Linked DNA regions of Homo sapiens: region 2 is linked to region 1. Evidence: promoter capture Hi-C in 16 types of primary human blood cells and fetal thymus (Javierre and others, 2016). All regions are on one chromosome and are shown on one strand. Each heading gives the region's core, a stretch centred on a gene start or on the middle of the fragment in contact. The rest is flanking DNA. Distances are from core to core; before and after follow the strand shown.

Region 1 (3,275 bases), core at 776-3,275:
GTCTCTATTTGCTGCACTGTTGGCCATTTCAAGCTTGTACCCGCAGTCAGCAAAAGGAAGTGTTAATAAGCTCGCCCACATAAACCCACTTTGCCCACTGCTCAAACCACCGCAAACCAATTTTTCCAGGCTGCTGCCAGGTTAGGCTCCCTTGGTGTTAATTTCCTGCTCAGTAAAGCAGTGAGTCATCTCCCTCCCTTCTCTCCAGCTCTCACTATTGCTCTGAGACCAGAGTCTGCAGCAGAGGGGTCACATGGAATCCTTTAGTACAGAAGTTCACGACCTGGACGAGGAGACGCAGGGACCGCCAACTGGCTCCTTGGAAACTGCCCGCAGTTGATTCCGAAAACACACCTGAGCCGAGAAGCTCCATGCAATCTGGAATTCCTGGAGTTCTTGTCAGCGTCCACTGCCATGCAGGACTCTGGGGCACTTGGCTTGTCATTGGCTAAAAGATGGGCTGGGTTCGAGGTGCAGATAGCTGCATTTTAGCCGCTGGTGCTGTCTCGCTTGGAGGAATGCTGTCTGCCACGCGACCACCAGGTGGCGCACAACACCTCGCGGCGACTGGACCGGGCACGGCTGCCTCTTATTAATCCCGCGGAGAAAACAGAGGCTGGAAATGCCCCCGGGGTGAGGCTTGACCAAGAACGGCAGACTCAAAATGGCTCCCTGTGGACCAAGTTCAGCTGAATGGAACAGAAAAATGTGTTCACAGCGGCTTCAACAAGAGACAGTCGTGTTTCTCTGTAAACACAGTCCTGAGTGGCTTAGGGGCCCCATGAAGGCCTAGGGCACGCAGCCTCCTTCCTCCTCACGGCCTCCACCTGGGATGTAGCCCCCAGCCTCCTAGTCCACGGTGACTGCCAGAGCTCCAGCCATCTCATACAAGTCAGGCAGTAGGATGGAGGAGGGGACAGAGAAGGGTATGGCTACCTTCACTGTGCTTTGCCGGAATTCACAGACATCACTTGTCTTACAACTCATTGGCCAAGCCTTAGCCATGGAGGCTGGGGGTGGGCTCTTTTGCTGGGCTTTGCCACCCCCAAGTAATTTCAGGCTTTAGTTTAGAAGAAGAATATGAGGATGGCTATCTCACGGCGACGTCAGCCACATGTGAATATGCGCCACTGGAGTTCCCCTGCGCCAACCCAGCATATTTCCCATTCCCTGGAAACCTCAATAACTGGGGCTCACTTCCTGCCTGCCCCTTAACCGATTTGACTCCCAAATATATGTCCCATGTCCATATTCTTCTCTTACACGCCAAGACCTGTACCTCTACCTAAACGTCCTGTGAGAACCTCACACTCCACATGTCTAAGCCGGTTTATCACCTCCTCTATCCCCTGCACAGGCCAGCCCTTCCTCCTGTGCTCCCCAGCCCAGGGTCTATCATCATGTCCCTTGACCCAAGCCAAGAACCGAGAGCCTAGGCACCTGCTTCCCTCCACACAGCCCCTCTGCCATCTACCCGTGAGTCCCACCTTCCCAGCATTTCCTGAATTCGTTCCATCTTTCCTTTCCCCATGATGACTTACTGCTCATCACCCTGAGACCCCAGTCTCGCCTCCATCAGACCAACCTCAACGCGGCTTCCAGAGGGGTTGCTCTGAAATCCAGATCAAACCCTGTCACCCTTCTGATTGAAGCCTCCATGGCTCCCAAAATTTTCAACGTGATTTATCAAGACCTTGAGAATCTGACCCATCCCTACATCCTCCACGTATCAGTTAGCATGGGGTAAGCATTTAACATGTGCACAAACCAGGCAGTGACTCCCTCCGTCCTCACAGCTCCTCTCTGAGGTGGCGGGTGACAGTCTGGGTTATTATTATTCAGCAAATACTCACACTCCTCCCGTATAGACTCCCCTGCTCATTGATGTTGGACTTGACCACCTGACGTGTTTTGGCCCTGGGGCTGTTGGAGGATGGAACTAGCAGAAGCACTCCATGCGCCCACATGGCCTGGCTCCTTCTTTCCACTCCAGAAGTCCAGGGTAAGAAGAGCTTCCTCCAGAGAGCCTCTGCTGTGCCCCAGGACAAACTTGGTGCAACCACCTGAACTTGCGTCAAACCCAGGCTACCTACAGCCTAAGGCAGGGCCGTCCAGCCACACCTATCCTGGATCAGCCAAATTATAGCCATCTGAGACCTGTGAGTATGAGAGTAATTAACACTGGTTGTCATAATGCACTGAGTTTGAGAGCTGTTTGTTATTATGATTATTATTTTAGAGACAGAGTCTCTCTCTGTCTTCCAGGATGGAGTGCAGTGGTGCAATCACAGGTCACTCCTGCAGCCTTGAACTCCTGGGCTCAAGCAGTTCTCCCACCTCAGCCTCCTAAATATCTGGGACTACAGGTGTGCACCATGCCTGGCTAATTTTTTTTTTAGAGTAGGGGTCTCACTATGTTGCCCAGGCTGGTCTCAAACTCCTGGGCTCAGTGATCCTCCTGCCTCGGCCTCCCAAGGCGTTGGGGTGACAGGTGTGAACCACGGCACCTGGCCTGGGCAGCATTACTTTGACAAAATTATGACATCCTCATTTCCAGCCACACCAAAACTTGTTTCCACCTCAGGGCCTTGCATCTTCTGATTCCTCTGCGTCTGCCTCTCCTGACCTTAAAAGGTAAACCCAGCGCATCCAGTTCAAATGTCACTTCCCAAAGAGACTTTCTCCACGGCGACCCAGCCCCCACAGCCCTGTCTTCTGCCCTCACTGTTGCTGTAGGGAATTGCCTTATGCACTTGCACTTACTCTGTCTCTCTCTCCAGTGAGAACCCAGGCTCTGTACCATGGAGCACTCGCGGGTACCGGGGCCTCTTCCCTGTGCTTACCCAGCTGCTCTCACCCCTGGCCTCACTTGCCTCTCTGCCTCGCTGGGTTGAAAGCCCCTGGCTCATTTTTACACCTCCAGGACCTACACCTCTGGGACCTGGAACACAGCAGGCCCTCAGTAAACCTGGAATTCCAGTCGACTCTGGTGTTTCCAGCTTGCTGCGGGGAGGGCACCTTCTTTCTGGATGGAGGGGACCCTAGCCTGCTTCTGGACTCTGGGTGGGATGGAGGAGTCTCCCAGTTTAGAGACACTTTTCTAGAGTCCAGACTGGCCTTACTCTGTGATATTGTCCCTGCCCCCAGCTCCAGAGCAGGAAGAACCGGCCCAGGGCAAGGTCTGTAACTCGGGGATCAAAGGGCTGCTGCTGCAGCCAAGCCTCTGCAGAGCGAACTTGAGCTCCCTCCCCAGCCACACTGCACATGCACTGCAC
Region 2 (3,275 bases), core at 504-3,003, 120 kb after region 1:
CAGGAGAATTGCTTGAACCTGGGAGGTGGAGGTTGCAGTGAGCCAAGACCTCACCATTGCACTCCAGCCTGAGCAACAAGAGTGAAACTCTGTCTTAAAAAAAAAAAAAGATATACTTAATACACTTTAAGTACAACTTAATACACTTAAGTACAACTTAAAGTATATTAAGTGTATTTTTGGTCCTAAGACCAAAAGCTTTGAGAACTGCTGATCTAGATGACGGGACAAAGTGGGGCTCCCGTCTACTCCTCTACCCACTGCCCATGCTTCACCCCCAGGGCCCCACCAGGTTGTCACTAACCTCTCAGCACACTGGGCTGAGGGTAGGATGGCATCTGACAGGGTCACTTTGCTGTGGAACGGCCCAGGTCTGGTATGGTTACTTGGTTGGTTGGCAAAGAGAACATTGTAATCCACGCATCGAAGGAGGAAGGTTGTGAAGGTGACAATGAAAATAAATTGTCTGCCGGGAGGAAGGGGGGGTGCCGGGATGCTGCAGTGATCAGGGACAGCCAGGTGGGCTCCTGCCCCAGCCCCCAGAGCAGCCCATGGTTATCCTCCCTGACCCTGCCCCTGCTGAGCCCTTGGGCTGCTCGGGAAAGCATGGGATGGAAGCAGCTGGCACAATTAAGGAAGCAAAATGACAGAAGGAAGCCATGGGCCCAGGGGACCGAGTTCCGGGCCCGGGCTAAGCGTCTCACCCCAGCTGGAAGACATCCTCCAGCAAGATGCAGGCAAAGCCATTCCGCTGGTGGTAGCTGTAGATGTGGCTGCGTGTCAAGGAACAAGCCTGAGGCACGGGGGGCCTCTCCTGAGGACACCTCCCCTCAGCCCCAACAAGTCTCCCACCCATGACGCCCTCACGGAGTCTCCCTGCCAAGAACAGTGCCAGCTCCAAGAGGACCTTCCCATGCCACCTCTGCAGGCCTAGCGCAAAGGATATCTTGGTGAAGAAACTGTCCAGGTTCTGGATGTGATGCCAGGAGCCTGGGCACAGAGGGGAGAGTGTCAGCCCCTGGCATGTGATCAATTCTCCACGTTCTCAACCCGCTGCCAGAGGCCCAGCCTGGGATAAGTACTGGAGCTCCCAGGCACCACTAACCCTCTCCCACCCACACCCACACACATACCTCGGAGCCCTTCAGGGACATGAAGCAGGGGTTGCTGCTCCTCCCCGTGGATGGGTGAGTCTTGGGACCCCTCAGGGTCACAGTCCTCCAGCCGCTCATAATCCTGTTCAGGGATCAAAGGGCCTACCCGCAGCCCAGGAGAGTCCTGGGGGCACTGCTGTGAGGGAGTGGGGGTTGCCGGGGCCAGGGGTGGGGTGGAGTGGGATCCCCAGGAGGGAGATGCAGAGGCAGGTGTCATTGCAGGTTGAGCCTGTGTTGGGGGGGTGGCTGGGATAGGGAGAGCACTGTGGCAAGACTGAGAAGCCCCTGTCCCCTGTAGCACTGAGCAAGGGGGCCCTGCGGTGGGAGGGGAAAATGAGGAGGGGGAGCTTCTTGTATGAGGGGCAGGGGACAGAGAGAAGATGGAGATCCTCCCTCCCCCAGGTCCCCGGCATGAAGGAGGAGGAGGAGGTGGCAGTGGCATGGGGAGGAGGGGCACCGATCCGGGCCCCAGATCTCCCCACCGCCCCAGCCGCCTTCTTCTCCCCCCCCAGCCCATTCGGCTCACCATCAGGCCACGGCTTCTCCAGAAAGGTTGGAAGGATGGGAGCTGTTGTTGCTTCCACAAAGGTCTGTGACACTGAGCTGGGACTTCAACAGGAACAATGACAACAACATTACTAGGTGACTCAGCCTAGGCAGGCCTCAGGCGTCCCAGCTCTCAGTCACCTGTCTGATCACTCACACCCCTTCCAGGGCAACCTGAGGCCAAATCCCTCAGGGCCTGAGAGGGGCATCAGTTTAAGAGGAGGGGCCAAAGAGCACATTGAGATGAGAAGATTCCTATTATCTCCATCTTCAGACCTTGAATGAATGAAAGATAAAAAGAACAGCAGCCAAAATGACAAAAGCAAAAAGCAAAATCGTGTTAGAGCCAGGTGTGGTGATGTGTGCTTGTGTTCCTAGCTACTCAAGAGACTGAGGTGGGAGGATGGCTTGGTGCAGGTTACACTGGAACAGTATAGGTTACAGTGAGCTAGATCCTGCCCCCTGCCACCCCCCCCAAAAACATCCTATTAAAGGATTGTAGCAGGGCGCAGTACCTCACACTTGTAATCAATCTCAGCACTTTGGGAAGCCGAGGAAAGAGGATTGCTTGAGGCCAGGAGTTCAAGACCAGCCTGGGGAACAGAATGAGAAGACTCCATCTCTACAACAAATCTTAGGACCAAGATGTTAACTATTTCATTTCTTAAGAGTGTACCTCCCCCACTTCCCTCCACACACACACTACAGTGATCAACAGAGAAATGTTTTGTGACCAAAACAGAAAAGAAGAAGTAAAGGGGCCAGGCATGTTGGCTTACACCCGTAATCCCAGGACTTTGGGAGGCCCGGGCGAGAGGATCACTTGAGGCCAGGAGTTCGAGACCAGCCTGAGCAACTTAGGGAAACACCATCTCTACAAAATCTAAAAAACAAACAAAATAATTTTTTTTCTTTTTGAGGCAGTCTCACTCTGTCACCCAGACTGGAGTATAGTGGCACAATCTCGGCTCACTGCAACCTCCGCCTCCCAAGTTCAAGTGATTCTTCTGCTTCAGCCTCCTGAGTAGCTGAGACTACAGGTGTGTGCCACCACACCCAGCTAATTTTTTGTATTTTTAGTAGAGATGGGGTTTCACCATGTTGGCCAGGCTGGTCTTGAACTCCTGACCTCGTGATCCACCCGCCTTGGCCTCCCAAAGTGCTGGCATTACAGGCGTGAGCCACTGCGCCTGGTCAAAAATAAATTTTTTAAAAAGAATAAGAAAAGGTTGCATGTTTTATTGGTCTGAGGTGCTAAGGAAGAGAAGAGGGGAGGCTGACTTTGCAGCCAAGTTGGGGAAAACTAAGAAGAGGAGGTGAAGAAAGGAAAGGCAGCTATCTTGGATTTGAGAGTTGGTTTGGAGAACTTAGAGTAGAAAATTGGGGTTCTCTGAAAGTTCCATTCCGTTTGCATCCTTATCATTTTCAACTGTGACATTCTCTCAAGTCCGGATCCCACTTCTGGGACCCCCTGAAAAGCATCAGGGCTGAATCAGAAGGGAGGACAGCTGTGAGTCTGGGACTTGGAAGGATAATTTGGATACCCAGGGAGGAGCTGAACTGAGTTCCTTGTTG

The links. Contacts are between HindIII fragments. The CHiCAGO score rates a contact against its expected background, and 5 or more counts as called.
Region 2: a contact is called between the fragment with the promoter of ATG9B here and a fragment that was not itself captured in region 1, in 1 of 17 cell types (non-activated CD4 T cells). The highest score is 6.1, in non-activated CD4 T cells.

The regions. Positions count from the first base shown.
Region 1 is chr7:150,898,116-150,901,390 of GRCh38, forward strand. No RefSeq gene overlaps it. Among named protein-coding and RNA genes, the nearest start is that of AOC1, 47 kb to the left of the region's middle. RefSeq lists an enhancer at 406-700 and silencers at 406-566, 584-643. The HindIII fragment of the contact is 3,989 bases long and covers 32-3,275 here.
Region 2 is chr7:151,022,741-151,026,015 of GRCh38, forward strand. It overlaps ATG9B (autophagy related 9B), which reads right to left and starts at 1,754. Exons shown (of 14, transcript NM_001317056.2): 1 at 1,134-1,754; 2 at 947-990; 3 at 705-769; 4 at 305-466. The coding sequence starts at 1,683. It overlaps LOC124901777 (a long non-coding RNA gene), which reads right to left. Exons shown (of 3, transcript XR_007060593.1): 3 at 2,255-2,293. RefSeq lists an enhancer at 2,665-3,269. The HindIII fragment of the contact is 8,592 bases long and covers 197-3,275 here.